6 separate regions of the Homo sapiens genome follow, and all the other regions are linked to region 1. The links are contacts of gene promoters, found by promoter capture Hi-C in blood cells and fetal thymus (Javierre and others, 2016). All regions are on one chromosome and are shown on one strand. The core of a region is centred on a gene start or on the middle of the fragment in contact, and the rest is flanking DNA. Distances in the headings are between cores, read along the strand shown.

Region 1 (5,206 bases), core at 1,258-3,757:
ATTTGCCTACACGTATATACAAACCATCAGAAACCCTGGCAGAGAGAAATTGTCTATGAAAAACACTGCCACGATGGAAAATTCTAACAGCACCTCTAATTAACTTCAGGATATCTTCACTAGGTTCTATATATACATGAGTTCAATTAAAAACAACTCTGCTGAGTAATATTTTGGATCCTCCACAATCTGTCGTGGGTGCCTTATCTTCTGGCTCTTACCCGGACTTCCATTCACTCCCCTGGCTCTGCTCCTGTCCAGACCCCTCTCTTGAGCTCTAGGCCTGCAGAGCCTGCCGTGCATCTCCCCCACCAAAACCCCCCTGGCACCCCAACTCCACACCTCCAGGACTGCTCTCCTCATCAGCAGCCTCTGCCCGGAGCTGCCCTCACAGACTCACACCACCCACCCTGAGCCCATGCCCAATGCCCTGGTGCCGCCCTCTTCCCTCCCAACCTATCACCAGCCCTTCTTACTTCTACCTGCACGGCACCCATGCCACCAGCTCAGGACCACCGCATGCTGCAGTAGCGCTCTTGCCCTGTTCCAGTCCACTCTCCTCACAGCTGCCAAAGCAGCCCCTTCAACAGATACCCTCCAGATTAAAACCCTTCCATGGCTCCCCATAGCCTGATCCTTTAGAGTCTAAAGCCCTTGTAATCCAGCCCTGCGGACCCCTCTGAATTTAGTTTTACCTGATTCCTGCCTTGCTATCTAAATTCAGTGGAATTGAGCCACTTGAGTCCCAAAGACCATGCTTCCTCTTTACCAGGAAGGACCAAGCTTGGTCCTTACTTCAGGACCAAGCTCAGGCACCTCTTCCTCCAGGAAGTCTTCCCTGATAACTCCTGGGTTGAGTGATGGGCTCCTCCTGGCCTTTACCCCTTTCGTGTACTTATTTGCTCCATGGTTCTCATCTGTTTATCTGTCTCTTCCAGTAACTGCAGAAGCCTCTCCACTGTCCCTAAGGAGCAGAGACAGTGCCTGGCCCATAATAAGTGCTCAATAAATGTTGGCAGAATGAACAAGGGGAAAGAGGAAAGATATCTCGCCCCAAGGTCATGATGTCACACGGCCCATCCCCTTTTCTCAGGCCTGGCATGTAGGATCTTACTGTTCATTGCAGTTTCTCCAGCACCCATCCCTCTCTGTCACAGGAAGCTCTTCCTCTTTTCAGCCCAAGGGTTAGTATCAGAGTCCAAACCCACATTCAAGTAATCAAAGTGAGCACTTAGAGCCTCCCTGTACAAAGTGTGGTCCCAGACCAGCAGCTTCAGTGTCGCCTGGGAGCTTGTTAGGAATTCCAAGTATCAGGCCATATCTCGGCCTACTGGAATCAGAATCTGGGGTGGGGCATGGGGCAATCTGTGTTTTAACAAGCACTCCAGGTGATTCTTAAAGTTTGAGAACTCAGGGCCGGGCCCTGACAGCCTTGAGCTGAGTGCTGTATATACGCATTCTCTCGTTTAATCCTCACACCATCGCCAAGTAGATATTATTATTCTTGCCCCCATTTTACAGGTGAGGAAGCTGAGGTCGCTCAGTAACTTGGTTAGCCTGACAGTCTGCCTTCAAGGCCTGCACTGCCACACCCAGCCTGCCTCACCTGTGAAGAGATGCTAGTGAATTCTGATGCCAAACATAGAAGTGGCCCCTTCATCTCATCTTCCTCTTAATTCTTTGTGCATGTGTTGTGTGTGTGTTGGGTGGGTTGGGGGGAGTAATGACATCTGCAAATGGGTCACAGTTGGGTGTGAGTCTTTTGGATGAGTGGCTGTACGTCTCTAGGCCTCAATGTCCTCATCAGAGGAGAATGAACTAGATGGGTCCCAAGTTCCTTCTACCCTGAAACCTCACGATGCCACAGGGCAAGTGGAATTTTCTCCATCCCCCAATGATCCTAGAGCCTTCAAGGACTGCAGAAACCCTCCATTCTCCTCAGCCAAGCACAGATCAGAGGACAGAGAGACCCACAGGGGACCTGAAGAAAATACCCTCCCATTCCCAGCACAGACATTTCATGGACTAAACAGCTCACAGACACCAGGACCACTGTTGGCTTTGACTCAAGTATTCTGAAAAGCTGCTTTTCTGCAAAGTATATGATCCCCTAAAACAGCCTCCCAGACATTCTAACCCAAGACAAAGGACATCAGGGTGTGGATCTGCACTGGCCCTGGGGAGCAGGGCTAGTAGAGACTGCAGGCATTATATCCCGCCAGTCCCCATTCTGAGGCAGGGAGCACGGTTCCAAGCTGCCCCTGCCCCAGGATGTCCCATGGCCAGATACGCCTTTTCTCAGCAGGCTGCAGTATGCTTGCAGGTGCCGCTGCCCACCAAGGGCTCTGGTGTGTGATCTGGGCCAGCGTCACAGAAGCCAGGCCAATCTGGAGGCACCTCCCGCACCCAGGAGGCCAGGCAGCCCCGGAAAGGAAGAGGTGGCAAAAGCCGTACAGTACTTACCGAGGGTATGAGAGGTTCTTCTCCCAGTGACTGAGGGCTGGTGTGTCTTTGGCATGAATACCAGAGCAATATAAAACCCCAGAGGCGGATCTTCTTTAAACAAAGTCCCTAAAAAGGCCAGCTGACGGTGTGTTAGCAATATTACCATATAAGGTGGTTTTTTCAATAAATCGCCTTGGGGGTAGGGAAGGGGGGTGGGTAGAGTGAGTTATCATTTGAAAAATGTATGCAAAAGGACTCAGTGGCAACAGCCCCGGTGCTGGTAGATTTGTTCCTTTTATGCTGCACTTGCATAAACAAAACTCACACCAGGCCTTATAAGCTGCCCAGAGTGAGACCAGATGCAGCTGTGCTCCTGGAGTGAGAACCATACCAAGAATGGCAGCGGGCCTCCTCCGTCCACACCTCCCTCCTCAGGCCCTGCTGCATGCGGCCCCTGGGTCTGCCTGGGACGCCCAGGCACTGTCCCCAAAATGGGTGCAATCATGCCTTGTCTGGCACGAGCCTGGGACCAATGAAAGCTGAAGAGAAATGCCTTCCGTACCCAGGAAAGAAATCCTGCGTGCCCTACTCACCTGCTGCACCTTGACACAAGCTCCTAACCCTTGGGCTGAGTTCTCTGAGGGTCTCAGGACACCTTAGGCTTCATTCTCTCTTGGCTCCTTCCTGGTTTTCCTTTAAATATCTCTAAATATCTGCAGACTGAGGGACCTGCTTCAGGGTTGAGGCACACCTAACAAGACTCTTGGCCTGTAGGATTTTCCACAGTCCTGTGATTCTTGAGCTGCTTCTTTTTCTTTTTTGAGATAGAGTCTCGCCCTATCCCCCAGGCTGGAGTGCATTGGTGCAATCTCGGCTCACTGCAACCTCCGCCTCCCAGGTTCAAACAATTCTCCTGCCTTAGCCTCCTGAGTAGCTGAGATTACAGGCACCTGCCACCATGCCCAGCTAATTTTTGTATTTTTAGTAGAGACAGGGTTTCACCATGTTGGCCAGGCTGGTCTCGAGCTCCTGACCTCGTGATCCACCTGCCTTGGCCTACAGGTGTGAGCCACTACGCCTGGACTTCTTTTTGTTTGTTTGTTTTGTTTTTAATTAGACAGGGTCTCGATCTTGAACTCCTGGATTCAAGCAATCCCTCCACCTTGGTCTCCCAAAGTGCTGGGATTACAGGTGTGAGCCACCATGGCTGGCTGATGATTGCTCTTCTTTGTGTAATTCATGTACTATCCCTAGGTAGCTGGTTCATTTCCCACATTATCAGCTACCAGCTCTGCAGTATTACTTTCAACTCCACATTCTCATGGTCCCCCTCCCTCACCCTGATCCAGACTAAAATGATCAATTGCCTATTGGACATCCCAATCCAGATGACTCTCCAGCTCTTCAAACTCATCCTGTCTAAAACTGAACCCTTCTTCCCTACCCTCAAAGCTGCTGTGCCTCCTGGGTTGCCAACTTCCAAGTCCACCCCTCGGCCCTTCAAGCTAGAAGTCAGTCAGTCTAGAACCCTGTGTCTCCCTCATGCTCCCACAACCACCTGGGCACCACAGCCTGGTGCTCCCCCGACCAGAAATGCCCCTCAGCTCTGTGTCCTCCCTCAATCCCTGCTGGCCTGCGCTGCCTCAGGCTCCAGTCCTATCTGGCCTGGAGTGGGGCGCAGCTTCCTGACTGGCCTTCCTGACTCTGCTTCGTCTTCAACACAGAGGTTCCCAAAGCATGGGGACCACCAGAGTGCAGCAGCAGCATGATATGGGAATGTGCTCACAATGCAGATTCTCAGGTGTCACCTAGCCCTATTGAAACAGAAACTCAGTGAATAGGCCTCAGCCATCTGTGTTTCTTAAACTTTCCCCACCCGGTGCCCAGGATACCCCCGCTTCAATAGAAGAAGCATGCATTGCATCCCTGCTAAACGCACAGGGAGTTCCAGGTGGTTTTGGGTCACCTGGTGCAATGGCTTGGTACAGGTCTGGCTTCCTCATTAACTGAAAATTGAGGCAGGAGATGGTGTGAATGAGGAGTGTCCTCTGCTGAGACAGCCCAGAGGAAAGATTTAAAAACACTTTCCTTGAGGACCTGCAGTTGTTCCCTGTGGAGAAGGAACACTGTTGTCATTGTGAGGTTCACTTACTCATCATTTGATCACTGGCCTGCGTGTTTAGTGCCTAAGTCTAAATTCCAGGCCTGTGGAAAGCTTCCTGAGCTTTTCAAGTTCCTAGAAAACCCTCACTGGGGATTCTGGAGGGAAGAGGGCTCCCTTTCCGGAGCTGTGCTGCATAGAAGGTGGCAGTGGATGAGGTGTGAGCTGTCCCAGCATGGACAGAGTGCTCGCAGTCCCAACTGGCCGAGGCAGGTAGCTCAACGCTAAGTGACAGGGTCATAAGCTCCCCCTCTGATTCTCTCTTCTTGTGTGGGAATGAGGCCAGGGCAGGGACAGGGTGCCAATCACCCTTGACCTGATCATGGGTTTAGAGGGGTCATCCTTTCCCTTCTCAGAGTAAGGGTTGTTTCACAGAGTGAGCTTTCTTCTAATCACTCAGCACCGTGGTCAGCGTGCAGATGGGGGCACCTTGCCCTATGGACATTCCCCTCTTAGTTGGCACAGCCAGTCGATAAACAATGAAAAGCCTATAACAAAGGCACTGGTTGTGATCTAGGCTCCAAACAGCCCAGAGACGAGAAAGCAGGGACTAACTGAATAAACTGAAGCTCTGAGGAAATGTTTAGGGAGAGATCAGAA
Region 2 (5,206 bases), core at 1,611-4,110, 370 kb before region 1:
AATCAAAGAGGGCCTTGTGCACCCAGCAAAAGAACCCGGGTTTTATTCTGAAGATAATGGGAACCCCTGGGAAGCTTGAAGCAGGAGCATGCTGTGATCGGATTTCTGTCTGAGTAGGAATAATCTAGAAGGGGCAACATTGGAAGGCAGAGACTGAGCCTGCATTCCAGAATGGAGAGGAAGGGACAGAGGTGGAATTGAAGTACTGGTGGGAAGTAGGAGGTGAGGAAGAGGGAGGGCCCAAGGCTGCTCCTAGATTTCTGTCTAAAGGGCTGGTGGATGGGAGGGAGGGGCATTGAGTGGAATGTGTCCATGAGGAAAGTGATTTGGGGGCAGGTAAAGAGTTGCATTTGAGGTGCCAGAGGGGACTGCTCCAAGGAGTCTGCAGCTCAGAAGAGGAGTCAGACTAAAGATCCATCCTGGGCATCCTCAGCCCAAATGGGTGTTGGAAACAACAGGAGTGGGAGCGATTGACCAGCGGAGAGGCTGAGGCACCTGGAGGGGATGAGAGCAAAGACAAGGCCCTGGGATGTCCAAGCAGGAGAGGATCCTGGGACAGAAATGAGAGGAGGAGAGCCAAGAGGAGCAGCATTCTGGACACCAGGAGTGGCACAGGCCAATAGCCGAGACACGATAGGTCTGAGGGTGTCCACCAGATTGGGCTAGTGGGAGAGGAGAGCTGGCTTTCTCTCTCTTAACAGAGGAAGGAACTATTGGGCAGTTCAAATAATTGGCTATCACTGTTCTCATGGGAAGCCCACCTTCCTTCCCTCTGCCAGCCTAAATCCCCAGCCCATGTTTGAAGACTCTCACCGGTCATGGAGGACAGAGGTGAAACTGCTCCCCCTCCAGCAAATTCCAAGCTAAGTGACACATGGAACCTCACCTAATAATGCGTCTGTGTCCCTCCTCCTATCCGGGCCTGGTGCAGAGCCACACCCAGAGTAGACAGCCTGGTGACATCCAAGACGTTGGGGTGGAGGAGTAGAGACTAGAGTGTGGTAGATTGAGGAGGGAGAAGGAAACAGTGGAAACTGGAGTCTAACACCTCTTTCAGGAAAGCAGCCATTGAACAGAAGGAAAGTGAGAGGATGCTAGTTTAAGGGGACTGCAGGATTAAGGGGGAGGGAGTTTGCTTTGGTTATGAACATGGGAGAGGTACATGAGTAGGGCCCATAGGAAAGGGACCTGCAAGAGCCTGGCTTCCCCTGATGGATCTTCTTTTCCTTTTCTCCTAGGTCATGCCCAGAGCAGAAGCATGAATGACATTTCTCTCACCCCAAACACAGACCAGGTAGTAAAACCCCTGCACTTAGCTGCAATGGAGGGCCAGGGCAGGAAAAAGTCTTTGGTTTCAGGAGCAGGGATCCCCTATGGGCAGAGTTCCACTCCTACAAAGGAGTGGGAGTTCCAGGAAGATCCCCAGTGGGGACTCTGGGCTGCCTGGGGGACTTTGCCAAGGCCAGTAGTCGGGGAATGACGGAGTCCCAGGTGCTGGCTCTGTGTCAGGCCCTGGGGGTGTGGGACAGAGAACATGATTAAATGAGGCGCCAGCTGTCCTTGAGCTTGGGATTTGTTGGAGAGAGAAGACCAGCACACATGGCTTCATCTATCCTGTGATCCACAAGCACCTTTAAAGATGGGATAGGGACTGGGGCTGGCAGAGAGACAGAAAAGAATCTCCCTGTGGCGAGAACAGTGGTAGTTAATTAGACTGTCCAATAGTGCATCTTCTTCCTGTGGTCTCCCATGAACTGGGCTGAAACCCTCGTGATGAGATCAGAATTCTGCAAACAAATTGGGTCCAGTTCTAAGGCCCACAGCCCCAGAATCCTGTGACTGTGCCCCTTGGGGAAGCCCAGAGGAGGCCCCCTTAATTCCAACTCCTGCATACCTCAAGGACAGGAGGCCCCATGGTCCCCTTGTCTATCTCCCCAGGAGTAGGAAGAAAGATGACAAAGGAAACCTGAGACTTGGCGAGGAGCCTTCAGGAGCTTGGGTGACCTCCAGGCCTTCCAGCCACCCCTAAGTTTGGTGGAAGGCAAAAACAAAGTCAGCCCCTCATGTCAGTGTCCCGGGCACAAATAAATTAATAACAACAGTAACAAAATCAATCAATATTTAAGCTCCACACCACATGCACTACACTGTGCCAGGCATTTTCTGTGAATCACAAAGGCACTATTTTCATTCCCATTTTACTCATGAGAGAACACTGAGGCTTACAGCAGTTAAATAACACACCAAAGTCTATACAGCTGAAAGACAGAACTTTGATTTGACCTAGGCAGTCTAACTCCAGAGCCCTTAACTTGGAAGTAATTTAGGAACTAGTCAGTATTCTGGAACATTATTTGGAGAGGAAAACCACTTTTACTCATGCATACAGACAGTGCAACTGTGATAAGAAAGCATTACCTAGTAAAAGTTTTTTATAACCTGTTTTAATGAATGTGTGAGTGGTAATAATAACACTAGCTGTCCCTTTCACCAGACAGTGCTTTCTTGATTTGGGGATTGGAACCCATCACCTAGCGCCAGCATCTGGTTCTCCTTGCTGATACTTGATGCTGCTTCTCGGTATTTGCAGCATCAGTGGTCTCTGCTATTGGGTGCTCTTCAGGTGCAAGCCCAGAGGCATTTGCTCTGCAGGCTCTTTCTTCATCATTGATTTGTGCAAAGCTAAACTCCATGCCTGCCCTCAGCTGGCAGATTCCCAGTGAACAGAGAGTAGATTCAGACAGCATCGTTGTGCTGCAGTGACTCTGCAGTGCAGAGCCAGATTGGAGTCCCCAAGGGTTCAGGAAGTGGAGTCAGCAGGGCCCTGGTTATACAAGCCCACATCCAGGCTTTGGGCAAGCCAGGGTTGGTTGGAACACTAGCATGCTCCCATTTCTGGGATGCCACAACCCTGGCCTTCTTACCAAACATGTCACAACGTGTAAGGAAGGACCAACTCCCTGGTTAAATTTCTCTTATCTTCTGTATTACAAGTGGGTTGGTTGGATGGCCAGGTGTGGTGGCACACACCTGTAATTCCAGCAGTTTGGGAGGCTGAGGCTGATGGATTGAGGCCAGGAGTTTGAGACCAGCCTGGCCAACATGGAGAAACCCTATCTCGATCAAAAATACAAAAATTAGCCGGGCGTGGTGGCACATGCCTGTAGTCCCAGGCATGTGCCAGACAGGCACGAGAACTGCTTGAACCCAGGAGGAGGAGGTTGCAGTGAGCCAAGATGGTGCCACTGCACTCCAGCCTTTACGACAGAGTGAGACTCTTGTCTCAAAACAAATCAAAACAACAACAAAAACAAGTGGGTTTGTTGGGACACCCTGAAGCATTGCTGCTTCCGAAGCCTCTTTCTCCAGGGTGCTCCTGCCCAGCCCGTATCTCCTCCCCTTCCCTGGACCCCCTCCCTGCCTGATGCTCGGAGACGGTGGCTGCCCTGTTACACCCAGCCCTCCACCCTGAAGAACGCTGCTTAGTAATCAGCTGACCATGCCTGAGACAAAGGGACTTTTTGAGTCTTGGGGACTCCGGTGTTCCTGTCAATTCCTGCTTTTTCTCACTATGTTAGGATCCTTGGGGCTGCTGATGGTTGCCCAGGTGGTTGTGGAGGGTTATTTTTTTTTTGTCTGATTGGATTTAAACGATTATAAGGGTAGTGCCATTGCTCACGAGCCCCTCCTCGTGCTGGTAGGCCACCCAGCCCAGTGTGTATGATGCCCCCACATGAGTCGAATTGGGAAACAGCTGTGGGGACAAAATGGCAGGACCTGTTGACCATATCCATGCCCATAGCTGACCCCTCCACAGGGACAGGAAGAGGCACAAGGAAGCTGTGTCTTCACTGAGGCTGTGAGAAACAGGCCTGTGCCCGCGGGAAAGACTGCAGTAGAAGGGGGATTGGTAGGAAAATTGTGATGTTCACAGGCGCTCTCTTCAGAGCTGTCCTCTACCCCCAGGCGCTTTCCCACTGTGTCAGCGACTGTGGACTGCACCCAGTCCTGCCGCTACCCCAACTGCTCCCCTCCATCTTCCGACAAAATTATCTCTGTCTCTTGTCTGTCCATGCCCTTGCTGCCCAGAGGGAAAGCAATCTGAAAAAGGAATTCATTCTAAGACGTTAAGGACTAAGAAGAGCTTGAAAGTAACCATCCCTGGGGTATCTTCAGCATAAAAGAGGACTCAGGAAGTTATAAACGCAGAGAGTGGGAATACATTTGGGTGGAGGGCTTGTCTCCAGTACCTCTCACATCAGACCCCACTGGCTCTGCCTGTGTGACCTTCCTCCCATGAAGTGACACTAGCCAGAGAGACTGGAGAGAGGCCACCTTGATAGTCTCTGCTGGAAAATTCCAGAAGTGATGAATTTCCTTGGGAGGTCCCCTGGGGGTAATGTGGGGGCATGGAAGTCTCCCACAGACTTGGAGACTGGTCCAGGAATTCCTGTGAGCCAGGAAGCTGGTGGCAAAGGGAAAATAAGGCCTGTTTACTCTGACCATCAGAACAGGCCTCCTCCTCCCCACAGCTACCAAAAGTGAAGGTGGAGAGGGGAGGTCTGGGTGGCTGAGGTAGAAGCACTGAGACTCCCATCTGCTCAGCCTGAAGGAGGCCATCCAGGCCTGATGTCCGGCAACCCCGGGGCTCTTCTCTGACCCCTCAACCCACATCTCAGTGGAGCCGTTTTCATCCGTCAAGGAATGTCTTAGTCAAGGAAAGTCGTTGCCAGTTCCTTCCCATCTACAAGGCTTAATGGTGCCTGGGGTTAACCTACATTCAGTCTCCCCATCTGCAGAATCGGAGGAGTACTTATTTATTCTTTCAGTCTCTTGGCAACATTGGGAGAATTTTTTTCAAGTTAGGCCTCAAAGCAGTCTGAAGGGGAGTGAGGGAGTGAGAGCAGGTGGGAGTCTCCTTGGCTATCTCGTTTCCCCTCCCTGTCCAGCGGAAAAACAAATTCATGAAGAAGATCCCCAAGGACTCAGAAGCGTCCAACGTGCTCGTGGGCGAGGTGGACTTCCTAGACCAGCCATTCATCGCGTTCGTGCGCCTCATCCAGTCGGCCATGCTGGGAGGAGTGACCGAGGTGCCTGTCCCCACCAGGTGAGAGCCATTGAAACCTGTCCCCACGCCACTCTCAGGTAGCCAGTCAGCAGTGCAGTCAGCAAGCAGTGCTGTTGACTGTTAGTGTTCTCAAAGGCA
Region 3 (5,206 bases), core at 782-3,281, 340 kb before region 1:
GGCCCAGGCAGGCGGATCACGAAGGCAGGAGATCGAGACCATCCTGGCTAACATGGTGAATCCCCGTCTCTACTAAAAATACAAAAAATTGGCCGGGCGTTGTGGTGGGCGCCTGTAGTCCCAGCTACTTGGGAGGCTGAGGCAGGAGAATGGCATGAACCCGGGAGGCAGAGCTTGCCGTGAGCAAAGATTGCGCCACTGCACTCCAGCCTGGGCGACAGAGAGAGACTCTGTCTCAAAAAAAAAAAAAAAAATTGCTCAGTTGCCTTCTGGAATTTCCGGTTGCAGAGAGGAATGAGGCCACACCATTTTATACTCATCAGATTGGTAGACAGATGAAGGTCTTGGGACACCAGATGTTGGAGATGGAAAGCAGTAGGTGGGAATGTAGACAGATACATCCAATTTGGAGAGCAACTGACACTCTCTGATTAGGTTGGACCATATGAAGTTGCCCATATTTGACTGTTTCAACCTACAAAAAAAGTCAAGTTCATGTGGTTTAACTTAATAAGCATTCATATGGTTTTGATGTATATGCTAGGAATATTATAGAAAAGGAAGTATAAACCCAGCACACTACTTGGTTCTGCTGTGACTAATATTTATATGATCATGATAATATAAAGCTGTTACTAATTTTCAACTTTTGGAATTGACTTACAGATAAAACACACAAGCCATGTGTTTACGGAACAAGAAATGATTGTTCTCAGCTTCGACAATGGAAAGGTCAAAGTGGAGGTGTGACAGGAAGGAAGAGGGGAGGAGGAGAGAGGTGGTAGGAGGATAGAGGCAGTGGTCCTCACCTTGCAAGATGGAGAATGAGAGATATTAGCCAAAGCTAATGGAAGGAGATGTTTAATTATTATCACTTGAAAGTACAAAGGAAACCCATAGGAGCTTAAAATTAACTATCAAAGATTAGGAATAAGGAAAGGACAGGAGGCACAGTGTAAGTAAAGGTAAATTCTTATCAATAGATAATCCCTTAAATTAGTAAATGAAAATATTAAAGTATATGCATATTAGTTAATGACATGGAGGGAACCTCTGGAACAAGTAAAATCAAGCAGACATAGTGGATAGATCTGGAAGGCGGGGCTGGATTGAGAAAAGGGGAGGTGGGAGACTTTGCTTTTCCTCATAAGTATTTTCCACTATGTGGGTTTTTAACCAATTACATATGTTATGTTAATAACAAATTTAAAGAGAAAAGGGGGATGCAGGGAATGAAGTCAATGTACTGTCACCTGCCCCTGCCCTTCAAATTGCCTTCTTTGAAAAGATATTAAAAAGGCCACAGGGTAGACGTTGGGGGACCATCTGTCCTGAGACTTCTGGACATAGAGTTGGTTTGGAGGGGAGGTCGGAGGACATTGATTCAGAATGGGCAGGAAGGTCAGGTTCAGAACTTGGTCTAGGAAGGGCCTCCAGGTTCAGAACCTGGCCTAGGAAGGGCCTCTTGAGAAACAGCGGAACAAGAGACTCTTGGTGGACAAAAGGTCTGAGTGTAGCCAATGATCCCCAGTGGAATTGGGGAGCCTCCCTCCTAGCCCAGGTGGGGTACAACAACCTGTCACAGGCTTGTAGGAACTAAGGTTTGCTTCAGAGTCCAGCCCTTGCCCTCATCATACCTGCTGGGTGCCCCAGTTCAGACTGTCATACCAGAACACATCTTCAGCAGTGGCTGCCATGGCCATATGGATCATAACAGATCCCACATTGACCACCATATGCCAAGCACTCTAAATGTGTCACAGTTCACTTACACCTTTGAGGGAGATACTACCATCATCTCCATTTTACAGAGAAGGAAATTGAGTCTTGGAGAGATGACACGCTTCCCCAAGCTCACACAGTTAGCAAGGAGCAGAGCCTGGATTTGAGCCTAGTTCTGCTGCCTTCAGAGCCCAGACTGTAATAGTTCACCTCTTTGCTGCCGGAGGACTGGGGCTGCCTGGAGCTGGGTGGGTGCTTTACTCACTTCTTTTACTTGCTCATCTCCTGTCTGCAGGTCCGGGCCCTGGTGGCTGACTTTTCCATTGTTTTCTCCATCCTGATGTTCTGTGGAATCGATGCCTGTTTTGGCCTAGAAACTCCCAAGCTGCATGTGCCCAGTGTCATCAAGGTTTGCCCCTTTCCCTCGCTCTGGGCATCCAGTCTGCCTGCCTACCAGCTGCAGATTCTTTCCCCTCTGTGCTGATCAAACTCTCTTCTCCTCTTGGCCAAGAGACCATTTTAGTTCTCTGTGTGCCACCTTTCCTGAACACAGGCTCCCAGGAGCCAGTCCTTTGAGGTAGGGCGGGGAGGGGTAACATATTCACCAGGAAATCCTGATCTATAGTCACGAGGTGAGGAAGGCACTGGAATTCACCCTCCAACCCAGCAGAAGCCTCTTGATTCCTATTTGAGTGTCTCCAGTTCCCTGACCTCTAGCAATCTATAAGCTGGGCCAAATGGGATCCATTGAAACTGATCCCTTAGAACAGTGATTCTCAAAGTGTGGTCCTCAGACCAATATCATGGCATCACAGTCACAGGGAACTCGTTGGAAATGCAATTTCTCGGCCCCACCTGTGGAATCAGAAAAGCTGGGGGGTGGGACCAGCAATCTGCATTTTAACAAGCCCTTCAGGTGACTTGGAGTATGCTCAAGTTTGAGAACCACTGCTTAGAAATTACCCACTAGTTAGAACTGGTGACATATGCTTGTAGCTAAACCCAGCCCTACTCCCTCATAAGAGCACCAACCGGCCAGGTGCGGTGGCTCACGCCTATAATCCCAGAACTTTGGGAGGCCGAGGTGGGCGGATCATGAGGTGAGGAGATTGAGACCATCTTGGGTAACGGTGAAACCCCATCTCTACTACAGATACTAAAAAATTAGCCGGGCGTGGTGGCGGGCGCTTGTAGTCCCAGCTACTCGGGAGGCTGAGGCAGGAGAATGGCGTGAATCCGGGAGGCAGAGCTTGCAGTGAGCGGAGATCACGCCACTGCACTGCAGCCTGGGTAACATAACAAGACTCTGTCTCAAAAACAAAAAAAAAAAGAAAGAAAGAAAGAAAAAAAAAAGAGCACCAACGATCTCACCAGAGTAGGGAGTCCAGATTCTAGAACTTACCCTCCCTGTCTTTAAGGTTTTTTTTGTTGTTGTTTGTTTGTTTGTTTTTTGAGACAAAGTCTTTTTATATATTCTCCTCATTCTGAACATGCAGGACTGAACTGATGTTCAGCATTTTACAGACAATTCTATAATGCTCCCAGACAGGTGACTCAGGAGAGGCAGAAGCAGCTGGCCCTGGGCCCACCCATTTCTTTATTCTTTTCTGCTGGGCCTCATTCCTGCTGTTTGTTATTTGCAGCAGGTGACTGTGCTCTCTCTCCTGGCTGCCCTCTGACCTTCACCTCCATGTTTCCTGACAAACCCCAGGGCTGTTGCAGCAAATTACCTTCTTAGTTTTACAGACACTGTCTGCATGCATGCTCCTTCCCATGTCTGAATTTAGTCTAAAGTTGCAGCTACCTAAGGTGTTTAAGGGAAAAGATTGCACTTGAAAAGTACCCAAAGTCAGGGAAAGTTGAGGAGGTGGGACAGCAGGCCAGGCGACAAGTGCCCTGGGACAAGGGAGAGAGGAAAGGGCCCCTCTCTGTTTGCTCCCACTCAGCCAACGCGGCCTGACCGAGGCTGGTTCGTGGCCCCCTTTGGGAAGAACCCGTGGTGGGTATACCCAGCAAGCATCCTGCCCGCCCTGCTGGTGACCATCCTGATCTTCATGGACCAGCAGATCACTGCCGTCATTGTCAACCGGAAGGAGAACAAACTGAAGGTAAGGCCGGTACTAGGAGCAGAGGCATAACCTCTTTCTTCCCACAAAGTCAGAAAGAGCGAAGGAAGGACATGATGCTTCTTTCAGTACTTTGGGCCAGGAAAATATGAGGACAGAGACTAGAGTTCCCACTTGGTGTGTTGAGGGGGAAATGTGACCTCCAGATGTGGGTAAGGCCACCAGGGCTGGAGTGACTTTCTGAGGACCAGGACCAAACTAGGCTGGGCCACTGGGCACAGGCTCTCTGTCTTTCCCAAAGTGACCTCGAGTTCTTATGAGAATCAGCAGATCCTGACAGGGGCTCAGCCTAGAACACTGAGGCAGAGGAACTTCCTTAGCCTTCCTGGTCTCTGCAACTCCCCACCCAGCCTGTGAGCCTGAGAAGACTCGGGTCACCCCCTCCCCCATCCAGGTCTGGACCACTTTAGGTGTGGCCTGTCCCAGCTGGGGCCCCTCAGGAACCGCAAAGACCCTGTGGCCACCTTCTGGGCCCTTCTCCCCAGAGACCCAAACCCAGGGCCTCTCCAAGCTTGAACATCCCTCTCTTCTATGACCCATACCCCTTAGGCAGTTCACCCTTTCAGATGGGGTGGCAGGACACACCCACCTCTGCAATCCTTGCAAGGAGCACCTCAGGCCCCTTCAGTATCTTCTGGAAGGCAGGGGGTCCTTGAACCATGTTCCACAGAATGGTTGCATCCAGGAGGAACTGGCTCCCCAGAAACTTCTCCCTCCCCCAACCCCGCTCCTGCAGAAGGCTGCCGGCTACCATCTGGACCTGTTCTGGGTGGGCATCCTCATGGCTTTGTGCTCCTTTATGGGGCTCCCCTGGTACGTGGCTGCCACGGTCATCTCCATCGCCCACATCGACAGCCTCAAGATGGAGACAGAGACCAGTGCCCCTGGGGAGCAGCCCCAGTTTCTGGGAGTCAGGTAGGAGGGGTCAGGGCCTAGGGATCACCCAATGGGGAGGGGCCCACTCGGGGAGGAGAAGCTGGCTTTGCCTGCCACAAAAGGATTTGGACAAAAAGGGCCCCCGCTCTGACGGCCCAAGAACCACAGGGACAGGAGTGCTATCCCTGGAGGGAGGGAAGGAGAGAGACAGAAGTCCAGCTCTAAGTGGGGCTTTTTACCTACTGGGCTCCAAGCAGTATGCATACCCCATCCATAAATATGCACACGTGCCAGACACTCATCTTCATCAGCCACCCAAGGTCCCCACAAGGCTTCGTGCTGTCCTGCCCTTTTCCTCTTCCTCAAGACCCTCCAGGCCCCTACTGCCCTGATGGCCCTCCTGCGGGTTCAGGTCCTGCTCAGTCTCTATTCCTCCAGAAGGCTGTCCTGGGATCACCCCCGCTCCCCAGTCTGTGGCCCTG
Region 4 (5,206 bases), core at 1,120-3,619, 330 kb before region 1:
TGAGGCAGGAGAATGGCGTGAACCTGGGAGGCGGAGCTTGCAGTGAGCCGAGATCACGCCACTGCACTCCAGCCTGGGCAACAGAGCAAGACTCCATCTCAAAAAAAGAAAAAAAAAGAAAACAGAAAAACTAGGCATGGCTTAAGTGTAATATCACTGAAAGCCAGGATAAATGAACGCTAAGGATCGAAACCCTGGGGTACTCTGTAGAATGAATTAACAGCAGGGTTAATTAGCAAAGGTCAGAAAGGGTATGGAGGAAAGCCAACATCAGAGATCAACATCAAAGCTAACATCAGAGATCAACTGGAGATGGGAACTGTTAAGAATAGGTTCAAGGCCAGTTGCCAGGAGCCCCCATGCCAACAATGTGATTGTTCTTCATGAGAAGCCACCCGTGAAAAAGGTGAGACTCCCTGATGATGACATAGTGGGGGCAAACACAGAAAAGATGAATTTAGAGGCAAGAAAGGCTTTACTTCATTGTTACTTGGGAAGATGCCAGGGGCAGTCCCACTCCTACCTTGTGCCCTAGAATGGACAGGGATCAAACAGTAATTACAGCACAGGCTATCCCAAGTCTAGAAGATCAATCTCCAGGCACAGAGGGCACTCATCCAAGAGATTTTTGGGGAAACGGGGCAGGGGATCTTCTGAATTATAAGGCAAAGCTGCTATCCCAATGCCAGGGTGAAACGACACACTTTTCCCCAGTTCAACCCTCCCTAAGCAGCAGTCCCAAAGATGCTCTAGCCCAAAGTGTCACCTGTCCCAGTTAATCTCCACCTTCCTTCTCATCCCACTTCCCCAGTCAGGCTCCTATATATGTGATGCCATTGATCTTTATACATTAGTATACACCGGTATTATGAGAAAAGCAGTCTATCTTATTTTCATTTATAAAATAATCTACATGAAATTGACTGACTACTCCCAATTTCAGGCAGTAGAGAGAAAATTTGGACCAGGTTAGGGGTTTCCAAAACCCTGTTAAATTACACAAGGCCCTAAGACAGGGTCAGAAATGAAGAAACTTTGGTAACTGGAGATGGTATCTCCCAACCTCATTGGTGTTTTACTGAATTTATGAAAACAGATGGAGGCAAAGATCACTAAATAGCAAGATTCTGTTTCAGTGAAAGGCTCTGCAACATGATCTGGTTTAACAAAGACTAAGCATCAATGATCTACCAGGTGCGATGCTTAATCCCTGAGGATGTGGAAAGAAAGGCATGCAAACAAAGACAGAGCACCCTGTGCAAGAATATCGGAGTACACAGGGAGGGAGTAGCCTCGTTTTGAGAATCTAAGAAAGGGAAACTGGAATCTGCCAGACATAGAGCGGGGCAGAGAAAAGAAAAGGCATTTCAGGCAGTGGACACAGGCCCGAAGTACCATTTGAAAACACACACAAACACACACACACACACACACACACACACACACACACACACACACCTCCAAAGAGCAAAGAACACTGCAATGGATGGGGCAAACTAAGCAGGCAGGACTACAAACACAGAAGACTGTGTTTGTGTTTGTGAGAAGACAAGACACTCCTGTCTTCTCACACTAAGGAGCTTAGATTCTTTGAACCCAATGAGGAATCACCAAATTTGTGATTTCAAAAGTTCACCTTGGCAGCAATGTGAAGATAGGTTTACAGGGTGAGACCAGATGCGTGACTATGGCTGAAGGCCAAGCCAATAGGAAACTGCTCATTCTGGCATGTGCTGAGAGTTCAGAAGCAAAGATGGAAGTATTTGCATTAGAGCCCTGCTCTAGGGGATGGGTTCAAAACACCAAGAACTACGTAATCCTTCTTTCCTACTTCTCGTTCAGCATCACCTTGCACTTCAAAATATCCTGTCCAGCTTCACCTGCTTTCAGCTACTCACGGAACCCAGTGTTCATGGTGCCACAGGTGAAGATAGAGATGGAGTCAGACTATGACTTCACAGACATGGATAAATACCGAAGAGAAACTGACAGTGAGACCACCCTCTAGGATGAAGCAGCTTCTCCCAGATGGGAGATGGAGAGCCTGGCTTAGTCTTCACTGGGAGGGTCTTAACTTCTCTGTGCCTGTTTCCTTCTTTATCAAACAGAGGGAGTCCGTCTGCCTATAGAAAACTGGAGATCTATTGATGAAAAGTATTGCTTAGATGCAAAGCTCTCCCCTTTGTAGTAATTAAAATACCTAAAGCTAAATATTATATTTTATTTTAAAATGCAGTTCAGCATAGAAATTCTAACATTTCTTTGGAAATAAAAAAATGCTTGTTTCCCCAAACCATAGCTAAGATAAAGGGGCAATAGTCAATTCATATTTAAAACAAATATCAATTTAAAATTGTTTAAAGGTTAGATTTAAATATAGATGTTCTCAAACAAACTTGTAATATACTTTTATGTCACTAGACCATCTTTGGAATATTTGGCAATTCTGCATATTAAGAAATGCTGAAAAGGTCCTATCTTTTCTCCCTGTCACATCCAATTTCCTAAGGGTTATATGAAAAGTTTGAACCAGCCGGGCACAGTGGCACACGCCTGTAATCCTAGCACTTTGGGAGGCCGAGGCAGGTGAATTGCCTGAGCTCAGGAGTTCGAGACCAGCCTAGGCAACACGGTGAAACCCCGTCTCTACTAAACTACAAAAAATTAGCCGGGTGTGGTGGCATGCACCTGTAGTCCCAGCTATTCGGGAGGCTGAGGCAGGAGAATCGCTTGAACCCAGGAGGCAGAAGTTGCAGTGAGCTGAGATGGCACCACTGCACTCCAGCCTAGGCAACAGAGTGAGACTCCGTATCCAAACAAAAAAAAAGTTTGAACCATCTGCATTATGGGCCTTGCTCCAGAAGTGTGACTGGGGCTTTCCCAGATTGAAAAGCCAGTTCCAAAACTCTGTTAATGAAAGAACCAATGCATCTGAGTGGATAAATGTTTCTAAAATAAAATAGTTCTTGTTAAAGTGAAATTTGAAACCACATGTTAAATCAAAATGATCCTTTAAATTAGTATCACTGGTTTTTCATACCTGGAATCACATTTCATGATACATTTGGGTGGGTCCTCCCTGCAAATTTTCAATGTTTATTCCCAAAGTCAAACTCCCATTCATGTGAACAATACAGGTTAGACAGAGGTAAGGTCACATTTTACATTACAACTTTGCAATATTAATCAACCTAGTACTTTAAAGGAATGATTGAAAACTATTTGGGAAGATAAAAACCAGTTTCAATGAAGCAAACCTATTCCTCATGAAACTTAAGATCAGTCATTTTATCTTCAATCCACATTTAATGAACACCAACCATGTTGATTTAATGCCTACTATGACCCTGACAGCCACAGTGCATCTGACACTTACTTTCTCCAAAACAACTATGATTTAAACCTTGAGTAAATCACTTGAACCTTGAGGTTAGAGTTACTATATTTGCTCAAGATGACAAATGCAGGTGCTTTCTTTTTTAAAGAAAAATGACACTAGATCATTAACACCTTGAGTATAGGACAGGTAATTGCCTCTGTAATTCCCAGCGTCTAGTGTAGTGCCTGGTCCATAGAAAGCTCTCAATAAGTGTTTGATTACATTTAATCTCAGAGCTCCCTTCCAAGGGATACTGCCAAGAGGTAAAGCTCCAAACCTCTACTCTTACTGAGAGCAGAATTTCTTAGAATTTCCAGAACCATCTCCTATGCTTAAGTATAAATTCTTGTCAGACACAGTGGCTCACACCTGTAATCCCGCTACTTGGGAGGCAGAGGTGGGGGGAATCAGCAGAGGTCAGGAGGTCAAGACCAGCCTGGGCAACATAGTGAGACCCATCTCTAAACAAATGTTTAAAAATTAGCTAGGCATGCTGGCACACACCTGTAGTCCCAGCCATTTCAGAGGCTGATGCAGGAGGATCGTTTAAGTCCAGGAGTTCAAGGCTGCAGTGAGCTATAATCATGCCACTGCACTCCAGCCAGGGAGACAGCTGGAATCCATGTCTTATAAACAATAATAATTAATTTTTAAAAAAAGTATTTATCATCCACACCAATCCTGGGGAAGCTAACAATCCACCCTTAACACATTTCAGTTTTAAAACCTGGCTGATCTGGAATAGAACTTTGTCCAAATTAAATTGTAGAAATGCTATGGATTCAAGAGTAAACCTGCTTGATTAATCAAACAAGCTGGAAAACTACTGTTAATTTCTTTGTTGTAAATTGATCACTGTAATTTTACCTTACATGTCATTTATATTTTGTATATACATGAACATTTTAATTTCCATAGCTTTTAACAGGTTGACATAATACTTCTCCATGCAGTAAGTCAGTCATTTTTTCCACTTGTAACTGTAATTCAATAAAATTTAATCCTGTCTGGTCATCTTGCTCCACATTTAATAATCTAGGTAAGCAGGCATGGATTAGAGACATAAGCTATACGTCACTTACAAAAACATCTCCAGCAAACTATCTAAACTTCTTTAAACTCCAGAGAACTATCAAAAGAATAACGCCAGCTGGCAGAAGAACGAGGACGGAGGTAGGTCAACTCAATTGTTTCTTCTCTTTCTGCCTCAAGCTGCCTAGAGCAGGAGCTACTTCTGCTCGCATGAAAGCCAAAAGCCAAAACAGACAAACCTATCCCTGCCTCAAGTATTTTACAGATTAAGCTCCTAGCTTGGCACAACCTGTTGTGATATAAGACTGTAGGACAGGCCAGGTGCAGTGGCTCACGCCTGTAATCCTAGCATTTTGGGAGGCCGAGGCAGGTGGATCACTTGAGGTCAGGAGTTTGAGACCAGCCTGGCCAATGTGATGAAACCCCATCTCTACTAAAAACACAAAAATTAGCCAGGCATGGTGGCATGCACCTGTAATCCCAGCTACTCAGGAGGCTGAGGCACAAGAATTGTTTGAACCCGAGAGGCAGAGGTTGCAGTGACCCGAGATCATGCCACTGCACTCCAGCCTGGGCAACAGAGCAAGACTCAGTCTCAAAACAAACAAACAAAGAGACTGGAGGACGAGGCTGGTTTCTCCAAAGCTCTTTAAACCTCTGTTTGGGTGTGGGTGGCCCAGGCCTGTAATCCCAGCCCTCTGGGAAGCTGAGGCAAGAGGATTGATTGCTTGAGGCCAGGAGTTCAATACCAGCCCAGGCAACATAGCAAGACCCCATCTCTACAAAAAAAAAAAA
Region 5 (5,206 bases), core at 2,000-4,499, 280 kb before region 1:
AATTCCCTGATGATTCTTATGCACATTAAGGTTTGAGAAGCATTGCTCTGGCACAGTATTTTTTATTCTCAGGTGTCTCTCTCTACCTTGTATATTGCTTAAATGTGTGTTTTGTGATTGAATAATTATCCAATTTTAGTTATGGATGTAATCCACATGCTTGACATTTTTATTAAATACAATATAAAAACACTATATAGTTTTTTTTTTATTTTTTATAACCAGAGTTTACCCACTTTATTGTGAGAAACTGGGATTCCTTCCAGTATTTACTATTATAAAATAGCACTACTCAGAATATGTTTATCTGCGTCTCATTTTCCTTCCTTTGGGTTATTCTCGTAAATGAATGGTCTCTAAAATACGATTACCTTGTCAAAAAGCCTGTATGATTTAGATTTAACTTCCATATTAATAGAAGTATTCCTCCCTCCTCCACTTTTTTCTTACGAGTTGATATTTAATTAGTGAATGCACAGTTGCTTTGTGGACCTTAATACGAGACTTTTTCTTTTTTTTTATTTTTTGAGACGGAGTTTCGCTCTGTCCTCCAGGCTAGAGTGCAATGGCACGGTCTCGGCTCACTGCAACCTCTGCCTCCGGGGATGGCACGGTCTCGGCTCACTGCAACCTCTGCCTCCCGGGTTCAAGCGACTCTCCTGCCTCACACTCCCGAGTAGCTGGGATTACAGGCGCCGGCCACCACACCTGGCTCATTTTTGTATTTTTAGTGGAGACTGGGTTTCATCATGTTGGCCAGGCTGGTCTCGAACTCCTGACCTCAGATGATCCACTCCCGCACTCGGCCGAGACTTTCTTTTTTTAAAACTTGGCCTTCTTGATGGACACTTGAGTTGTTCCCGCTTTTTGGCCATTATGAATAATGCTGCTGTGAACATATGTGACAGGTTTTTGCGTGGATGTATGTGTTCATATCTCTTGGGTATATACTTAGGAGCAGAATTGCTGGCTTAAGTGGTAACTATGTTTAACCTTTTGAGGAACTGCCAAACTTCAAAGTGCTGCACCATTTTACATTCCCATAAGTACTCTATGAGGGGTCCAATTTCCCCACACCTCTCATAGCACTTGTTAATTTTCTTTTTTTTTTTTTTTGAGACAGAGTCTTGCTCTGTCGCCCAGGCTGGAGTGCAGTGGCTCAATCTCGGCTCACTGTAAGCTCCGCCTCCCGGGTTCACGCCATTCTCCTGCCTCAGTCTCCCAAGTAGCTGGGACTACAGGCGCCTGCCACCATGCCTGGCTAATATTTTGTGTTTTTAGTAGAGACGGGGTTTCACCGTGTTAGCCAAGATGGTCTCAATATCCTGACCTAGTGATCCGCCCACCTCGGCCTCCCAAAGTGCAGGGATTACACGCGTGAGCCACTGCGCCCGGCCTTGCCTGTTTTTAAATTGGGCTGTCTTTTTGAGTTGTAGGACTTCTTTATACATTCTAGATACAAGTCTTTATCACATCTATGATTTGCAAATATTTTCTTCCTTGTTCAATATAGTTTTTTTTATCATGTTAAAAACTTTTCAGATATGATTTTTAGTGTTTTCATCATTCTTTTTTACCTCCTTTTTTTTTTTTTTTTTTTTTTTGAGACAGGGTCTCACTCTGTTGCCTAGGCTGGAGTGCAGTGGTGCGATCTCAGCTCACTGCAACCTCTGCATCCCGGGTTCAAGCAATTCTCCTGCCTCAGCCTCCCAAGTAGCTGGGATTACAGGCACTTGCCACCACGCCCGGCTAGTTTGTGTGTGTGTGTGTGTGTGTGTGTGTGTGTGTGTGTGTGTAGTAGAGGCGGGGTTTCACTATGTTGGTCAGGGTGGTCTCAAACTCCTGACCTCAAGTGATCCACCCGCCTTGCCCTCCCAGAGTGCTGGGATTACAGGTGTGAGCCACTGCACCCGGCTCTTTTTTACTTCTTAATCAGTCTTATTTAAATTCCAAATTACTCAGGTAAAGTAAAAGTCCATAGTTCTATTCCATTCCTCTTCCTAGAAGTAATCACCAGTTTTGATGAGTTTAGTTTTTGATATTTTCTATGTATTTACAAAATGGGCTCCTGCTGTACGTTTGGTTGTGTATTATGTTTAACCATGTATTAGATCTTTCCCTGTGAATACGTGTACTCTGTCTGGTTTTCTTAACTTCTATACAATATTCCATGATATGGATGTACCATACTTTAATTCAATCCTCTACTGATAAACTTGAGGATTGCTTCTAGGTTTCTCCCTATTAAAAACAATCTTGGAAAAAAATTCTTATCCATATCTAGAGGAGATATTTAGAAGTAGAATGGATGGCTTGAGGAGCTTTTCAGTATTAATAGATACTACCATATTGCCCTCCCAAAATGTTACACTTTATACTTTCACCAGTAGTGTATTAAAATACTAGTTTCTCTGTACCCTAGTCCAGTGGTCCCTAACCTTTTTGGCACCAGGGACCAGTTTTGTGGAAGACAATTTTTCCACAGATCTGGTTGGGGAGATGGTTTCTGGATGATTCAAATGCATTACATTGATTGTGCACTTTATTTCTATTATGACATTGGAATATATAATGAAATAATTCTACCACTCATCATAATGTATAATCAGTGGGAGCTCTGAGCAACTAGACAATCCCATCTGGGGGTAATGGGAGAGAGTGACAGATCATCAGGCTTTAGATTCTCATAAGGCACATGCAATTTAGATCCCTTGCATGCACAGTTCACAGTAGTGTTCACGCTCCTGTGAGAACCTAATGCCTCTGCTGATATGACAAGAGGTGGAGCTCAGGTGGTAATGCCAGCAATGGGGAGCAGCTGTAAATACAGATGAAGCTTTGCTGCTTGCTCACTGCTCATCTCCTTCTGTGGGCTCCAGTCTGTGTCCTTGGGGTTGGGGGCCCCTACCCTAGTCCACATTTAATGTAATCATTTAAACTTTTGACATTCAGATTAGGGAAAAAATAAATCTTACTTTAATTGAACAGTTTTTCTCATGCTCATTGATTGTCATACTTCTGAATTGCCTATTCATCTCCTTAGCCTATTTTTCTAAAGGATTCCTTATATTCTTAACGAGTTACAGAAGCCCTCTATTATCCAGTTCATCCTTTGTAATATATGTTACAAGTACTTTTATTTGGTTACTTGTCTTTTTGCTCTGTTATGAAAGTTTTAATTGATACTATTTGAAATCTGTCCACTTTTTCTTTGAGGTTTCTGAGTTTTGTGCAGGAAGACTTTATGGATGGTGTGAGATAGGAATAAAAACATTTTTTCCTCAATAACGAGTTGTGCCTGTCTCATTTATTTTCCCTATTATAAACTTAAAGATGTTAGTGTTTCTTTTACTGTGGTTTGCTTTCAAGGCGTCTCAAATATTTTGATATAGAATACTGGATTTTTGAACTAAACCTCCCTGCGCCATTTTCTTTTTATCTTCCCCACCCCCCATTCCGCCTTACTATGTTGTCCTGGCTGGTCTCAAACTCCTGGGCTCAAGAAATCCTCCTGCCTTGGTCTCTCAAATGGCTGGGATTAGAGGTGTGAGCGACTGCACTTGGCTCCACCATTTTCTTTTTTCTTTTCTTTTCTTTTTTTTTTTTTTTTGAGACGGAGTCTCACTCTGTTGCCAAGCTGGAGTGCAGTGGTGCAAGCTTGGCTCACTGCAACCTCCGCCTCCTGGGTTCAAGCCATTCTCCTGCCTCAGCTTCCCGAGTAGCTGGGACTACAGGCGTGTGCCACCACGCCCAGCTAATTTTTGTACTTGTTTTTTAGTGGAGACGGGGTTTCACCATGTTGGGCAGGATAGTCTCAATCTCTTGACCTCGTGATCCACTGCCTCGGCCTCCCAAAGTGCTGGGATTACAGGTGTGAGCCACCGCACCTAGCCATGGCCCCATCATTTTCTTTTTTTTTTTTTTTTTTTTTGAGACGGAGTTTCGCTCTGTCGCCCAGGCTGGAGTGCAGTGGTGCGATCTCGACTCACTGCAAGCTCCGCCTCCCGGGTTCACCCCATTCTCCTGCCTCAGCCTCCCGTGTAGCTGGGACTACAGGCGCCCTCCACCACGCCCGGCTAATTTTTGTATTTTTAGTAGAGACGGGGTTTCACCGTGTTAGCCAGGATGGTCTCGATCTCCTGACCTCGTGATCCACCCGTCTCGGCCTCCCAAAGTGCTGGGATTACAGGCGTGAGCCACCGCGCCCGGCATGGCCCCATCATTTTCTATAGCACTTTGGGAGGCTGAGGCGGGTGTATCACTTGAGGTCAGGAGTTCGACACCAGCCTGGCAAACATGGCAAAATCCCATCTCTACTAAAAAAAAAAAAAATTAGCTGGGTGTGGTGGTGCATGCCTATAATCCCAGCTACTCGAGAGGCTGAGGCAGGAGAATCGCTTGAACCCAGGAGGTGGAGATTGCAGTGAGCCGAGATTGTGCCACTACATTCCAGCCTGGGTGACAGAGTAAGACTACATCTCAAAAAAAAAAAAAAAAAAAAAACCGAAATTGAGGCCAAAAGAAGGTTCAGTTTCTCAAGAAGACACAGTTAGTGTCAGATCAAGAACTAAAATCCAGGATGTTTCTCTGTACCAGACTTCTTCAGAGGGCATAGTAAAATTGCCTTATTTGTGGAATTGTGCTGCTAATCTTGCTTTTACAGGCAGGGGAAAAAAAGCATTCTTGTATTGTGATCATCATCTTCCTATCTTGGCATTTTTCAGAGAGTGTTTTTGTTTTTTTTGAGACTGAGTCTTGCTCTGTCACCTGGGCTGGAGTGCAGTGATGCGATTTCAGCTTACTGCAACCTCTGCCTCCCAGGTTCAAGCCATTCTTCTGCCTCAGCCTCCCAAGTAGCTGGGACTACAGGTGTGCGCCATCATGCTTGGCTAATTTTTGTATTTTTAGTAGACGTGTGGTTTCACCATGTTGGTCAGGCTGGTCTTGAACTCCTGACCTCAGGTGATCCCAAAGTGCTGGGATTACAGGCATGAGCCACCATGCCTGGCCCAGAGAGTATTTTTTATTTTATTTTTACAGGCTACTTTATATACCTAAAATTATGTTGTTCTACCTGTTCTACTTCCAGTCTTAAAAATTCATATACTTGCACTTTTAATCTTACAGCAGCAGCCGCTCTTCTAAAACATTCAAACCAAAGAAGAATATCCCTGAAGGATCTCATCAGTATGAACTCTTAAAACAT
Region 6 (5,206 bases), core at 796-3,295, 270 kb before region 1:
CTTTGGGAAGCCAAGGCAGGCAGATCACTTGAGGCCAGGAATTCGAGACCAGGCTGGCCAACATGGCAAAAACCCATCTGTACTAAAAATACAAAAATCAGCCAGGTGTAGTAGTGCACGCCTGTAGTCCCAGCTACTTTGGAGGCTGAGGTGGGCAGATTGCTTAAGCCTGGGAGGTGGAGGTAACAATGAACCATGATCATGCTACTGAACTCCAGCCTGGGTGACAGAGTGAGGCTCAGTCTCCGGGGTGGGGGGGGGGACAAAAAACAAAAAACTAAAACTACAGGATTTTTGAACTTTGATTTAGCAGCATCTTACATAATTTGATACCTGTGCCTAAGGCAGTCAGAAAAAAGTGTGGTACTTTGTGAGGATTGGGGTTTGGGTTTTCATTTCCTTGGCTTTAAAAAATATATACAGAGGTAGGTTTGTGTGTATTTATGAATGTGTGTGTTTATATGTTGCAGGTGCTCATGGCAGTGTGTAAACTTTCTGCTGTTAGGCTGGGCATGCCTGTAATCCTAGCACTTTAAGAGGTTGAGGCGGGCAGATTGCTTGAGCTCAGGAGTTCAAGACCAGCCTGGGCAACATGGCAAAACCCCATCTCTACAAAAAATACAAAAAATTAGCTGGGCATGGTGGCGTGTAGTGCAGGTTATTTGGGGGGCCAAGGTGGGAGGATCAGTTGAGCCCAGGAGGTCGAGGCTGCAGTGAGCTGAGATTGCACCACTGCCTGAGTGACAAAGTGAGACCCTGTCACAAATAAACAACTTTCTACTGTTAGATAACCAAATAATTGTTTCATATGTGTATTTAATTGCAGGTGTCCCATTTCCCAAAAACTTTATGTCTGTGGCAAAGACTATTCTAAAGCGTCTGTTCAGGGTTTATGCCCATATTTATCACCAGCACTTTGATTCTGTGATGCAGCTGCAAGAGGAGGCCCACCTCAACACCTCCTTTAAGCACTTTATTTTCTTTGTTCAGGTAAGTTGATCCATGTTGATTTCTGTGTCCTGTGACTTGGACTTATTTGGATTGGGAACTTCAACAAAGAGCTGTGTGTCTTAGTTATAGATGTAGAGCCAATTACAGGCAAGCTTCTCTTTTCTGTTTTGTTCTCTTTTCCACATTATTTATTTTATTGATGTGTGCAGCAGTATAAAAAGGTATCACCCCCATTTGGGCCTTCTGCCTCTGGCCACCCTAGGTCTGTGGTTAGGATTATCCATTCAGGGTTGTGGCCTGTTGCTTTGTGGACCCTTAGTCAGAATTGGAACTTTTTTTTTTTTTTTTTTTGAGACAGGGTCTCACTCTGTGGCCCAGGCTAGAGTGCAATGGCGTGATCTTGGCTCACTGCAACCTCCGCCTCCTGGGTTCAAGTGATTCTCCTGCCTCGGCCTCCCGAATAGCTGTGATTACAGGTGCCCACCACCACCCCCAACTAATTTTTGTATTTTTAGTAGAGACGGGGTTTCCCATGTTGGCCAGGCTGGTCTCGAACTCCTGATCCACCCACCTCGGCCTCCCAAAGTGCTGGAATTACAGGCCTGAGCCACAGCACCCGGCCAGAATTGGAACTTTAAAAAATCAAAATAATTCACATTGTTTGAAAAAGATATCAAAGAATTGGTATGCCTTTAGCCTAACTTTAGAGATACTTATATTTTGCATATTGAATTACATATACATGTCTGTCTAGATATTTTATGATGAAAAAACCTGGTAGCTTTATAGTAGATACTGTGTATTATAGTTTTGTGTACTGTACCATGCTCTTCCTGATCTTCCTTCTCAGATTGTTGCATAAAAGGTCTACTGGCCCTTTATCAAAAATTCAGTTTGTAGTTTTCAGGTAGTTTCTTTTTTTTTTTTCCCCCCTCTTTTTTTTTTTTTTGGAGACAGAGTCTTGCTCTGTCGCCCAGACTGGAGTGCAGTGGCACGATCTCGGCTAACTGCAACCTTTGCCTCCTGGGTTCAAGCAGTTCTCCTGCCTCAGCCTCCTCAGTAGCTGGGATTATAGGCACCTGCCACCACGCCCGGCTAATTTTTATGTTTACTAGAAATGGGGTTTCACCATGTTGGCTAGGCTGATCTCGAACTCCTGACCTCAAATGATCCACCCACCTTGTCCTCCCAAAATGCTGGGATTACAGGCATGAGCCACCATGCCCGGCCTTTTTCGGGTAATTTTAATGTAAATTTAAATATATATACAGTTTTGATTTTAATGTTTAACACAATGAGGATCATACTGATACCTAGAGTTGGTTCTTTAATAAGTCTCCCATTGTAAAAATATGGGAAAAAACAAACTCCCTTTATCCTACTATACTCTCACCACACAGAACGCTTCTGTGACCAAACATGGGGACTGTCCCTCACACACCAAGCAAGTGATCATTTCTACAGTGGACACCAGATGAATGTCCTATAATTTGATTCAATTTTGATAATGTCTATCTGGAGGTAGCATCAGATCCTACAAGTTTGAGAGCTCAGTCCCACAAGACTGCCCCCCATTTGGGATATCAATCAAAAGTAATACATTGTCACCTATACCTCTGACTATAAACCAGGGTTCCCACAACCCCCTCCTTGGGTTTGATTAGTTTGCTAGAGCCGCTTATAGAACTCAGGGAAATACTTATCTCTACCTGTTTATTATGAAAGATGTTAACAAAAGATACAGATGAACAGCCAGATGGAAGAGATGTGTAGGGCCAAAGGAGAAGGGGCTTCCATGCTCTCTCCAGGCATGCCATGCTCCAGGAACCTCCACGTGTTCAGCTATCTGGAAGCTCTCCTGAGCCCTGTTTTTTGTGTTTTTATGGAGGCTTCATTACTTGCCCATGATTGATTAAATAATTGGCCATTGATGATCAACTCAACCTTCAGCCAGCCCTTTCCCCTCCCCAGAGGCTGTGATCTGGGAAGGGGAGAGGGCTGGCTGAAGGTTGACCAGTTCCCATCCTGAAGCTTTATAGGAGCCTCCAGCCACCAGTCATCTCATTAGCATACAAGATACTCTTAGCACTCTGGTGATTCCAACAAGGGTTTTAGGAGCTGTGTGTAAAGAAAAAGGAAGACCAAATACTTATATCACAATATCATACCTATATTTTTAAAAAGAGAGGGCTGGACGTGGTGGCTTACCCCTGTAATCCTAGCACTTTGGGATTTGGGATGCCAAGGTGGGCAGATCACTTGAGGCCAAAGTTCAGTACCAGCCTTGGCAACATAGACCACATCTGTACAAAAAAGAAAAAAAAAAGAAAAAGAATAAATGCCTACTTTAAAATGTTCACAGAGGTTATTTCATCATTCTTTTGGACTTCAGAAAACTAGAGTTGGGAATCCCTTCTCCAAAAGACATTTACAGAGTTTCAGTTTTAGATCCATTTTTAATTGTTATTTTTCTTCTCTTTTTAGGAGTTTAATCTGATTGATAGGCGTGAGCTGGCACCTCTTCAAGAATTAATAGAGAAACTTGGATCAAAAGACAGATAAATGTTTCTTCTAGAACACAGTTACCCCCTTGCTTCATCTATTGCTAGAACTATCTCATTGCTATCTGTTATAGACTAGTGATACAAACTTTAAGAAAACAGGATAAAAAGATACCCATTGCCTGTGTCTACTGATAAAATTATCCCAAAGGTAGGTTGGTGTGATAGTTTCCGAGTAAGACCTTAAGGACACAGCCAAATCTTAAGTACTGTGTGACCACTCTTGTTGTTATCACATAGTCATACTTGGTTGTAATATGTGATGGTTAACCTGTAGCTTATAAATTTACTTATTATTCTTTTACTCATTTACTCAGTCATTTCTTTACAAGAAAATGATTGAATCTGTTTTAGGTGACAGCACAATGGACATTAAGAATTTCCATCAATAATTTATGAATAAGTTTCCAGAACAAATTTCCTAATAACACAATCAGATTGGTTTTATTCTTTTATTTTACGAATAAAAAATGTATTTTTCAGTATCCTTGAGATTTAGAACATCTGTGTCACTTCAGATAACATTTTAGTTTCAAGTTTGTATGGTAGTGTTTTTATAGATAAGATACGTCTATTTTTTCAAAATTCATGATTGCAGTTTAAATCATCATATGACGTGTGGGTGGGAGCAACCAAAGTTATTTTTACAGGGACTTTATTTTTTGATCTTTATTTGAGATTGTTTTCATATCTATCTAAATTATTAGGAGTGTGTGTATCAGAAGTAATTTTTTAATGTCTTCTAAGGATGGTCTTCCAGGCTTTTAAACTGAAAAGCTTAATTCAGATAGTAGCTTTTGGCTGAGAAAAGGAATCCAAAATATTAATAAATTTAGATCTCAAAACCACTATTTTTATTATTTCATTATTTTTCAGAGGCCTTAAAATTCTGGATAAGAGAATGGAGGAAAATACTCAGAGTACTTGATTATTTTATTTCCTTTTATTAAAAAATTACTTCTATGTTTTTATTGTCTCTTGAGCCTTAGTTAAGAGTAGTGTAGAAATGCATGAACTTCATCCTAATAAGGATAAAACTTAAGGAAAACCACAATAAACCATGAAGGTGTACACATCTTATAACACAGATAAAGTTTTGGTGTGCTACCTATTCTTGAGAGAGTGAGTGAGTGTATGTGTTTAAAGGAAACAAAATGGGAGAAATAAGTTTTAAAAAAATCCTCATTTTGTTAATATTCAAAAGATGGACTGAGCTTCCACTTGGGTTTTATCTTGTTTTAATTGTTTTTGTATCAAAACTTGAAATTCCTCTATTTCTATTGGGATATAAAAGCCTTCCCCTTCAGTGAAGAAAACATTTATTTTTTATTTGATTCCTAGGATTTAGTAAACTCTAGCTGTCTATTTAAAATGTACTGAGGCACAACAAGTATTATACTGGAAGACTTGCCAAACTGGCAAAGCTTTAAGTTCATCAGCATTCTATGTGGTTCAGAGCTGTGATTTTTGCAAAGTATTTTACCAACCTCCTCGATGGCTTTGATAAAGGTTAGATTTGATGTTTTTTTTTAGATTTATTTTTCTTACTCCACTAAACTATAAAGAAAATAATTACTTAGAAACTCCATTTTAAATAATCATTTCCTAGAAATTCTTAAATATATACAGAATTTTAAAGAAAACATTTCATCTGATTTAGTTAGCATCCACATATCATTGAGGAATTAAAGTGT

Evidence for each region. The method cuts DNA at HindIII sites, captures the fragments that hold promoters and counts their contacts. A CHiCAGO score of 5 or more calls a contact.
Region 2: a contact is called between a fragment that was not itself captured here and the fragment with the promoter of ACTG2 in region 1, in 1 of 17 cell types (activated CD4 T cells). The highest score is 5.3, in activated CD4 T cells.
Region 3: a contact is called between a fragment that was not itself captured here and the fragment with the promoter of ACTG2 in region 1, in 1 of 17 cell types (activated CD4 T cells). The highest score is 6.6, in activated CD4 T cells.
Region 4: a fragment that was not itself captured here is called in contact with the fragment with the promoter of ACTG2 in region 1 in 1 of 17 cell types (activated CD4 T cells); the score reaches 5.8 in activated CD4 T cells.
Region 5: a contact is called between a fragment that was not itself captured here and the fragment with the promoter of ACTG2 in region 1, in 1 of 17 cell types (activated CD4 T cells). The highest score is 6.0, in activated CD4 T cells.
Region 6: a contact is called between a fragment that was not itself captured here and the fragment with the promoter of ACTG2 in region 1, in 6 of 17 cell types (activated CD4 T cells, naive CD8 T cells, naive CD4 T cells and 3 more). The highest score is 11.7, in activated CD4 T cells.

Annotation. Positions count from the first base shown.
Region 1 is chr2:73,890,309-73,895,514 of GRCh38, reverse strand. ACTG2 (actin gamma 2, smooth muscle) reads right to left here and starts at 2,507. Exons shown (of 9, transcript NM_001615.4): 1 at 2,464-2,507. RefSeq lists an enhancer at 2,618-3,431. The HindIII fragment of the contact is 3,877 bases long and covers 786-4,662 here.
Region 2 is chr2:74,255,676-74,260,881 of GRCh38, reverse strand. SLC4A5 (solute carrier family 4 member 5) reads left to right here. Exons shown (of 31, transcript NM_133478.3): 12 at 1,239-1,294; 13 at 4,950-5,107. Among named protein-coding and RNA genes, the nearest start is that of MTHFD2, 60 kb to the right of the region's middle. The HindIII fragment of the contact is 5,568 bases long and covers 77-5,206 here.
Region 3 is chr2:74,232,026-74,237,231 of GRCh38, reverse strand. SLC4A5 (solute carrier family 4 member 5) reads left to right here. Exons shown (of 31, transcript NM_133478.3): 22 at 2,018-2,131; 23 at 3,669-3,830; 24 at 4,585-4,763. Among named protein-coding and RNA genes, the nearest start is that of MTHFD2, 36 kb to the right of the region's middle. The HindIII fragment of the contact is 4,660 bases long and covers 1-4,361 here.
Region 4 is chr2:74,215,429-74,220,634 of GRCh38, reverse strand. MTHFD2 (methylenetetrahydrofolate dehydrogenase (NADP+ dependent) 2, methenyltetrahydrofolate cyclohydrolase) reads right to left here. Exons shown (of 8, transcript NM_006636.4): 8 at 3,070-5,206. It overlaps SLC4A5 (solute carrier family 4 member 5), which reads left to right. Exons shown (of 31, transcript NM_133478.3): 31 at 1,843-4,393. Among named protein-coding and RNA genes, the nearest start is that of MTHFD2, 19 kb to the right of the region's middle. The HindIII fragment of the contact is 7,791 bases long and covers 1-5,206 here.
Region 5 is chr2:74,172,674-74,177,879 of GRCh38, reverse strand. It overlaps MOB1A (MOB kinase activator 1A), which reads left to right. Exons shown (of 6, transcript NM_018221.5): 2 at 5,128-5,206. Among named protein-coding and RNA genes, the nearest start is that of MOB1A, 3.6 kb to the left of the region's middle. RefSeq lists a silencer at 1,149-1,341. The HindIII fragment of the contact is 821 bases long and covers 2,839-3,659 here.
Region 6 is chr2:74,154,875-74,160,080 of GRCh38, reverse strand. MOB1A (MOB kinase activator 1A) reads left to right here. Exons shown (of 6, transcript NM_018221.5): 5 at 827-990; 6 at 3,436-5,206. The coding sequence ends at 3,513. Among named protein-coding and RNA genes, the nearest start is that of BOLA3-DT, 9.5 kb to the right of the region's middle. The HindIII fragment of the contact is 1,879 bases long and covers 1,106-2,984 here.